2 separate regions of the Homo sapiens genome follow, and region 2 is linked to region 1. Evidence: promoter capture Hi-C in 16 types of primary human blood cells and fetal thymus (Javierre and others, 2016). All regions are on one chromosome and are shown on one strand. Each heading gives the region's core, a stretch centred on a gene start or on the middle of the fragment in contact. The rest is flanking DNA. Distances are from core to core; before and after follow the strand shown.

Evidence for each region. Contacts are between HindIII fragments. The CHiCAGO score rates a contact against its expected background, and 5 or more counts as called.
Region 2: a contact is called between a fragment that was not itself captured here and the fragment with the promoter of HSD17B2 in region 1, in 3 of 17 cell types (M1 macrophages, monocytes and M0 macrophages). The highest score is 6.1, in M1 macrophages.

Annotation. Positions count from the first base shown.
Region 1 is chr16:82,033,155-82,037,525 of GRCh38, reverse strand. It overlaps HSD17B2 (hydroxysteroid 17-beta dehydrogenase 2), which reads right to left and starts at 2,273. Exons shown (of 5, transcript NM_002153.3): 1 at 1,837-2,273. The coding sequence starts at 2,101. The HindIII fragment of the contact is 2,978 bases long and covers 1,091-4,068 here.
Region 2 is chr16:82,259,120-82,263,490 of GRCh38, reverse strand. No RefSeq gene overlaps it. Among named protein-coding and RNA genes, the nearest start is that of MPHOSPH6, 91 kb to the right of the region's middle. RefSeq lists an enhancer at 2,892-3,391. The HindIII fragment of the contact is 3,900 bases long and covers 280-4,179 here.

The DNA of each region.
Region 1 (4,371 bases), core at 1,024-3,523:
TGTATGGTTTTGATGTACACTGCCACATTTTTCTTTGGTCCTGCCCCACCACAATGCGTGCTAATCTATGTTATCATAAGCCAATCTGGAACAAAGGTTATTCCAAACTCAGCGTGGCTTCTTCATTCTTTAAAGAGTTGTGGTCTAACAAAATGAATTCATTTTAAATTTCTCGATTTCATACAAAGGTCTTGAGGCCTTGTCTAGGATGATATGAGCACATAGCATTCCTCATAAAAATGACAGAGAACTTGAAAATAACAAAGAACGTGAAAGTGACATTTCAGTCATCCTTAAATATATGTAGTGCTCATCTTAATTCTAAGCTTTCTTCATTGCCATAAGCATTTCATGCAGGGATTAGTCCTTGAGCTTGAGTTGCCTAATTGATTCAATCATCCTCACTCAACACTAAATGCACGGCACCTTTCAGTGGCTGATGTGGGCTCACTGAGTTGGGTGCATATTTTGTGAGCATTAATTAACACCTGCATCTTGAAATGCAGAGGATAAAGAATGTTGACAAAATAAACAAGCAAGAAGGGATTCCCATTTTCTCAGCTACCCTGTGGTTTGCCTGAGCTCATCCTAAGGTTTCATAACAGAACAGGACACAGAACAGGAAAATTGAGACTCTCTTACAAATTTCACCGATAAGCCATTTGAGAATTCTAATAAAAAAGTGGAAAATCCAGCCAGACTCCCAGATACATGATTCCAGGTGATATCAGACATTCTTGCAGATAAACATCCCATTGACTGAATTTTCTCCCTCTAAACTTTCAAAAATTAATTTAAAGAAGCTTCTTTTCTGTGGCTTGTCTAACCCCAACAAGCACCAATTTGCATTTTGTTTCAAGAAAGCATTTTACTTTAACCCAAAAACAAAGTCTGTTTCTCTGCAAATTGTCAAGCCCCAGATTTTCTCCCAACCACATCCCCATGCCATTCTTGCCTTCACCCTGAGGATCATGGTCAGAGGGGTGATGATCTCCCCCAAATGATTCCACAGCTGATTTTTTTTTTATTTGGTAGGGCTTTCTGGGTTAGGATAACGCTGGATAATCCTAATTACAGCCCTATCCAAGCTTAAACTCCATAACCAAGCAAAAATTTTACAACTCAAAGAAATTTAATTTGGCCTCACACTTGCAATGGGGAAACACACACACACACACACACACACACACACACACACACACACAAACAAGGGAAAAACTGGCAGCTCAGCTAACAGGCAACTGAATGTTGGACACGATGCCAAGTTGGTCCAATTAAGAAACATTAGAGGTCTAATGAGGAACAGTTCAGACAGGACACAAGGTTCTTGACAGCAGCCAAGCAAACTGCAAAGTCTCCAGCCCAGGTAAGTGAATCCCTTCAATATTTCAAAACAGCAAGGGACAAGTAGAACTTGGCTTGTAAGCGTTCTTGCATACCTAGGGAAGAAGAGTCCAGGTGGAGAACCTGGCCAAACAATGATGTCAGAACAAAAGTCCATTTAAGCCTAAAAAACAATCTATGGGACATTCCTGGGTACAATAGAACACATGAAATATTGCCATTTTGCCTATTAATATTTATTCCTGGGAAATTTTAACAAAATCATTGTCTGGGTGCACTTCATCCTCTCCTTCCCTCCCACTACCAGCCCCTTCAAATGCACCTCCTGGAAAAAACGGAACGAAAACAGTGTCATGAAAAATACTTGGGTGAGGGCTTTCATTTACTCCATGCCAAGTATTTTATTTTTAAGCCAGATTTGACAAAGTCCTGCTAAGGCAAAGCAAGTTTCAGATCATACCCTCAGTGAAAATTGTAGCACCGTCTGCTTACCTGTCACCAGGACTGCCTTCTGATCCACAGGTAACAATTCTTGGCCAGATAAGTAAGTATACATGAGGAAGCATGACACCGAGAAGAGGATCAAGCCCCAAAAAGGGGACAGGATGAGCAGGCAGACTGCACAGAGGCCTGCCAGGCAGACCATCCAGCTCCACAGCTGCCCTGAGCTCTTCTTGTATTTGCAAAATACTGTCCCACATAGTACTGTGGGGACAGCCAGGCAGATCCATGCTGTGTCCGAGAAGAAAGTGCTCATTCTCAGTGACTTGCTGCACCTTCAAGTGCTCAGGGCCAGTGAGTCTAGCGGGCAAAGGCTGGCTGGAGGCAGCCTGAGTTCTGTGAACAGAGAGTCAAGAAGGGAGGGGAGAAAGCAGCCCCAGCCCCTTTCAACTGAGCATAGATTAAGCATAATCATATTCCCAGTGGGTAATTTAAACCAGTGTGCACTTCAACATAAATACCAAGGCACTTCCTATTTGACCGCTCTCGCCCCTCCCCACCCCCTGCATACACAACACATGCACATACTCACCCACAAACACACACCTTCTATTTTTTTTTAATGACAGTCCACCTCTGGAGCGATGACTAACTGGATAATAATTGACAGAATTTGAACTGCATGGAGAATAACAGGAAGATCCTCTAGCTCACAGGAAAATACTGTCTTCTTCAAGAGCCTGCAGTATGTCTGGGTGCTGAGTCCTTTTTCTGACTCGGGAGTGAGTGAGAGTGTGTGTGTGTGTGTGCGTGTGTGTGCATGCATGCATATAAATATAGGCAATCGATGAAGTTTGGAAAATAGATTCTGGAAGGGAAGGCACCTCTGATCTGGTCCATAGCTTCAGGACTCCTACAAATCCCAACTGAGGCAGGCTGAAGGGTTGGATGGAGAGGGATATGAAAGTAGAGGAAGATATTCCTTGGTAGAGGAAAGTGCTTTGGTCTTGCCTGAGTGGAAACATGCCAGGGAGAGATAATAATGACAATTAACTAATAGCGGCTAATATCTATTGGTAGTTTTTTGTGGCAGAGGCTGTGTATAGCTGCTTATTTGTTCTTTCTCTTTATTGTAAGCCTATTCTATGCCAGCCTCCATTCACTGGGACTCCTCTCATCCTCCTTGAATACAATATCCTTATGAAGTTGATTCTAGTATTATAGTAATTTTACAGGTGAGGAAACCAGGACACAGAGAGGGTAAGAGACTTAGTCAAGATCACACAGCAGTGGAGTCTTGCAGCCTGATCTCAGAGCTGTATGCCCCTAAGCATTCTATTCCACTGCCTGCTTTAGGCAAAAAAAAAAAAAAAAATTAGTGCATTATGTGCTAGATCTTTCCTACTTTCACCCCATTTCAACCTTATAAAACTGTTTGAGGTGGGTGTTATTATTATGGTCAGTTTACAGAGAGAAAAACTGAGGCTGGGAAAAAATAAATCCCTTACTCACAAGCGGCTTAAAAGCCAGCACTCTGCAACTACAGCACCACCTAACCGTGCTAAGCCAGAGAGGGGTCACCGCACCTGGGCTCAGGGCGTGCCCCATGTGGGCCACATGCCTGGCTGGAGGGAGGCAAGGTTGTGATAAAGGCTGGACTTTGGCATAGCTAGAGAGAAACATTCTCTATTTGAGGTCAGTTTCCCTCTATTCAAATCTAATCTTAACTCCACTACTTATTAATTACATAGTCTTGGGAGGGTCACTTCACCTCCCTAGATCTTCATCCCTTTGGCTATAAAATAATATCATATCCTGCCTGGAACAGTAGAAGGAACCTCATAAATGCTAGTGATTCATGTTTTTTAAACAGGAGGAGAATGAAGAATAAGAGGAAGTCGTGTAAAACAAAGTGTCCAGTGGAGTATAGACTTGTCTCAAAACACGTGCTGGAGTTAAATGAGGGGCAGGAGGAGGAAGGGAGAGGATGCCTTTTGTGGATGATGTTGGGGAGGCAGGACTCGGGAAGGAAGGGACCCAGCAGCGTATCCCCTGTAAAGGGAGGTGAGGCAGAGCCCACCTGGGCTCAAAGCCAACTCAAGACCCAAGGGAGAAGGGGTGGGAAGCAGTGTCTTGTGAACCATTACTGTGCTGTGGGACTGTGGGGTTGGACAACAAGGCAGTTATGAGGGTCTGCGTGGAGTGATGGCAACTGTTGTCTGCCCTCCCAGCCACATGGACATTTGAGTCAGGGAGACGTTACCAGCTCCAGGCCAGGAAGCTTAGGGGCAGGGATCTGGAATTGCCTTTGGCTAGCCCTGAACTCTCCCTCCCTCAACAGACCCCAATTCCTTCCTGGGTGCCATCTGAGCCACAGGGCACCTCTCACAATCCTTGTGGCCTCACCAGCCCAGAGCATCCTGGCAGTTAGCTCCGTTCGAAAAACAGCTTCCAGGTGGGGAGACAGGACTAGCTATGGCTCTTCGCTGAGAGTCTTGGCATTTGGTCAGTGGCTCCCACATTTGGGCTGAGCCAAACACCTGCGCAGGCTTCCTGCCAAGTGCACGCCCACTTGAGAGAGGTGGC
Region 2 (4,371 bases), core at 980-3,479, 230 kb before region 1:
CATTGACCCATTTGAAAGGATACAATCCTTAGGAGGCTGACAACCCACTGTGGTTGATGCATCTTAACTAATATTCACATTTAAACTGTTTGGTTAAAGGAATGCGTCAAAGCATTTGGCAGTGGAAAAACAACACAGCCTAACTTTGCATGCAACAATTTGATCTAAGCAAATAAATAAGTTATTTTCATTTCCAGTTTAACGTAACAAGAATATTTCTACAAGATAATTTGCTTTCAAAAATTCTAGCTGTGAAGTTTAATAACAGAACATGAAGCTTCGTGTCATTTCATATTTATGCTCCAATCCCAGTTTTGACAGTTCCCATGGGCTCTGGACTGCTTGGCTAGAGATATTTTAGGCCATGTTTTCATAACAACAGGTAGAAAACGCAGCCCTAGAGCCAGGAAAAAATAAAGAGCCTTTAATAGGGTTTTAGACATGGGACTTGCTCACCTTTTTCTCCTCCTTGCTACCAGGCAAGTTTACAACTCAAAGAAATGGTCAAGTTTTCCCTTCCAGTCTCCTAAATATATGGTACTAGACGCCTGTTCCAAGCTCGCAGTGTCAGAAAAGTCCCTTCTCTCCCCGGATTGGCTAACAGCAATGGCAGCTAGCTGGTACTGATCAAGAGTTGATGCCATGCTGGGGGTTGTGCCCAAAGCATCATACGAAGCTGGCCAAATCTCCAGGGAATCACCAGGAAGGAAGAACTATGTGTATCTCATTTCACAGATGAGGTAATGGGGCCTAGCTGGTGAGGACCTTTGCACATGGTCTCACAGATAGCATGGGTTCTGAACCCAGACATCTAATTCCAGACTAGGATCAGCCCTGGCCAGGTGTGTCAGGGTGAATCTGACCCATCCTCACCTAGTCAAACCCTTCAAAGGGCAGCTTCACCATTTTCTCTTCCTGCCCTACATTTCCCACCACTCTCACACCCACAAACCCAGCCCCTTCCAATGGCATCAGTGCCTCTTGCCAGTGAAATCTCACCCTGCTTATCACTAGCCCTCCCACAGTCCACCCTTGCTTTAAGTGGGTGACATGAATGTTAAGCATCTTAAAGGCAAGACTCATGTCTAATTTGTGTCTATATTAATCCCAAGCGCTGGCACCGGACATTATAAGCAGTCAGCGGCCAGTACATGTTTGCAGGATGAACAGATGAATAAATGGACCTGGAGAAATGCACTTCCATGCTGTAAGAGATCCCTGGGGTCAGGAAGGGAGCTAATCCCATTGGAGGGCATGGACAGTGATGATGCTAACCCCCAAAGAGTGGACAGGGGAGTGGGAGCACAGGGAGGACATCTAAGGAATGTACTCAGAAGGCATCTCTATACCCAGGTTGTCACCAACAAGCAGAGTGATCCCACCACTGAACAAGACACCTTCAAGGCAGAGTCAGGCACTGCAGCATGAAGCCAAAACAGAGGACTCTGCAACCTTCCCCCTTTAGCCCCTCTGGTGGGGCATTTAGGAAATATACAGAACCCCCCTCTCTTCTCTAGCACAGAAGTACCACCACCCCTTTCTAGACTGTGAGCTCTTCGAAGGCACAGGCTGTTTGGTTCTCTGCTAAATCCTGGATATCCTTGACACCTAGAGGAGGTTCAATAGGTATTCTTAAAGCATTCAAGCCTTAATTTCAGCAGCCACTACAAAGCAGTGGTAAGGGAGAAATCTGTGTCATATCCAGAGCAACACCCAGAATTCCTCAGTCTTTTCTGAAACAGTGATGTATCCGTCTTCATATTTTGTAGATGCTAATTGTTGACAAGATGATTTGGTAGCTCAAAAAATTGGAACTGACACCGTCAACCTGTTTAATCCATTTACAATCTTTGATCATCAGTGCAAGGGACTTTGTCAACTGAGTGAGGCCAGTTTACCTTGTGAGGCCAGCATCTTGTTTCCTATTAGTGATGAGCATTACAAGTAAGTAGATTGGCTTAGCATGTTAAATAGCATCCAACAGCCCAGCAAAAATCACACGCTAATGTAAGAAAATAGAATCTGTGAAATAAGGAGAGGGAGGATTCAAGCCAATGCACATTTACTGAGCAAAAGTTTTGCTAACTAGCTTCGCCACCACTGGACTTGCTGCACCCCATCCTCCACAAATTGTCCAAAGTGATCTTTCTAAATGCCAATTGGCTCATATTGCCTCCCTGTTTAAAATTCTTTAGTAGTTTCTCCAATCTCTTTATCATGTCATCCCAGGCTGTCTGGAATATGGGCCTTGCATACCTCCCTAGCCCAAAACATCTCCCTTTCCTCACTCCACGATATGCTACACACACTCCCCCTGTACTCCAGAAGTCTCATGGTATGCATGAATGGCTGCAGAGTCTCTTTCAACAGGACCTTTGCACATGCTCCTCCCTCCTTTTGGAATAATTTCCTCTACCCTTTCACCTAGCTAATTGCTTCAGGATTTAGACAAACTGTTTATTGCATCCAAGGAGACTTCCCTAATGTAATGGGGTTAAATGGTGGTCTCTAAAAAGATACGTCTACATCCTAAACCCCAGAACCTGTTAATGTGAAAATAAAAAGGGCCTGTAGGGCCTGGTGTGATAGATCATACCTATAATCCACCCACTTTGGGAGGCCGAGGTGGGTGGATCACTTGAGCCCAGGAGTTCAAGACCAGCCTGGGAAACATGGTTGTATTAGTCCATTTTCATGCTGCTGATAAAGACATACCTGAGACTAGGTCATTTATAAAGAAAAAGAGGTTTAATGGATTTACAGTTCCATGTGGCTGGAGAGGACTTACAATCATGGCAGAAGGCAAAAGGCACATCTCACATGGTGGCAGACAAGAGAGAAGTGAGAGCCAAGCAAAAGGGGTTTCCCCATGTAAAACCACGGCTTCTCATGAGGCTTATTCACTACCAAGAGAACAGTATGGAGGAAACCACCGTCATGATTAAATTATCTCCCACCAGTCCCTCCCACAACATGTTGTAATTATGGGAGGTACAATTCAAGATGAGATTTGGGTGGGAACACAACCAAACCACATCAATGGTGAAACCCCAGCTCCACAAAAATACAGAAAAGTTAGCCAGGCATGGTGGCACATGTCTGTGGTCTCAGCTACTCCGGAGGCTGAGGTAAGAGGATTGCTTGAGCCTCGGTGGCAGATGTTGCAGTGAGCTGAGATCACGCCACTGCACTCCAGCCTGGGTGACAGTGTGAGACCCTGTCAAGGAACGAAGGAAGGAAGGAAGGAAGGAAGGAAGGAAGGAAGGAAGGAAGGAAGGAAGGAAGGAAGGAAGGAGGGAAGGAAGGAAAGAAGGCAGGCAGGCAGGCAGGCAGGAAGGAAGGAAGGAAAGAAGGAAGGAAGGAAAGAAGGAAGGAAGGAAAGAAGGAAGGAAGGTAGGAAGGTAGGAAGGAAGGAAGGAAGGAAAGAAGGAAGGAAGGAAGGCAGTCAGGGAGGAAGGAAGGAAGGCAGGCAGGCAGGCAGGCAGGCAGGCAGGCTTGCAAATGTAGTTAAGTTAAAGATCTTGAGATATGATCATCCTAATCTGAGTGGGCCCTAAATTCAATGGCAAGTGCCCTTGTAAGAGACACACAGAGGAGCGGCACAGGGAGAAGGAGGAAAGGAGCCATGAGACTAAAGTGATGCAGCCACAAGTCAAGGAATGATGCCAGGAACCACCAGAAGCTGGAAGAGAAAAGGAAGGGTCTTCCCCCAGAGCCTTTGGAGGAAGCATGGCCCTACTGACACCTTGACTTCAGACTTCTGGCCTCCAGAACTGTGAGAGAATAAATTTCTGTTGTTTTAAGCCAGCAAGTGTGTGGGAATTTGTTACTACAGTTCTGGGAGACTAATACACTCGACCTTACCTTCAGAAGCTCCCTGTTCTGTGCTACCCCAACTCTGCACACACTCCTATCTCTGTCTTTTTTGTATGGTTTTGTGATTGCTATTTGATTTTGTTGCCTTCCACACCAGACCCTGTGCCCAGAAGGCAAAGATTTTATCTTCTGTGCTTTCTGCCATGTTCCAGCACTTCCTTGAATGGTTCGCAAGGCTGTCAGCAGGTAAAGAGCAAAAATGACCAAGAGTCTAACTTGATCTTTAAAATCCCCAAATCGACCACAAATGTCTTCTGAGGACAAGCCTATAAGTTCCCCCCTCTTGCCCCCTTGCTCAAAGCTTCTCTTGATCCTCAGTTAATTCCTGCATTTCTTTGCCAACAATGCCATCACCACCCACTTAGCCGGCCAGATGAATCATGTATCTCCCTCTTTTGTCAAAGGGTGACAAGCCCTTAAAATTATTCATAAGTAATTTCCATTGGTTTTAAGCCTCCATTCACTGTTTCAGGCTTAAGTGCATCTATTGCCTGT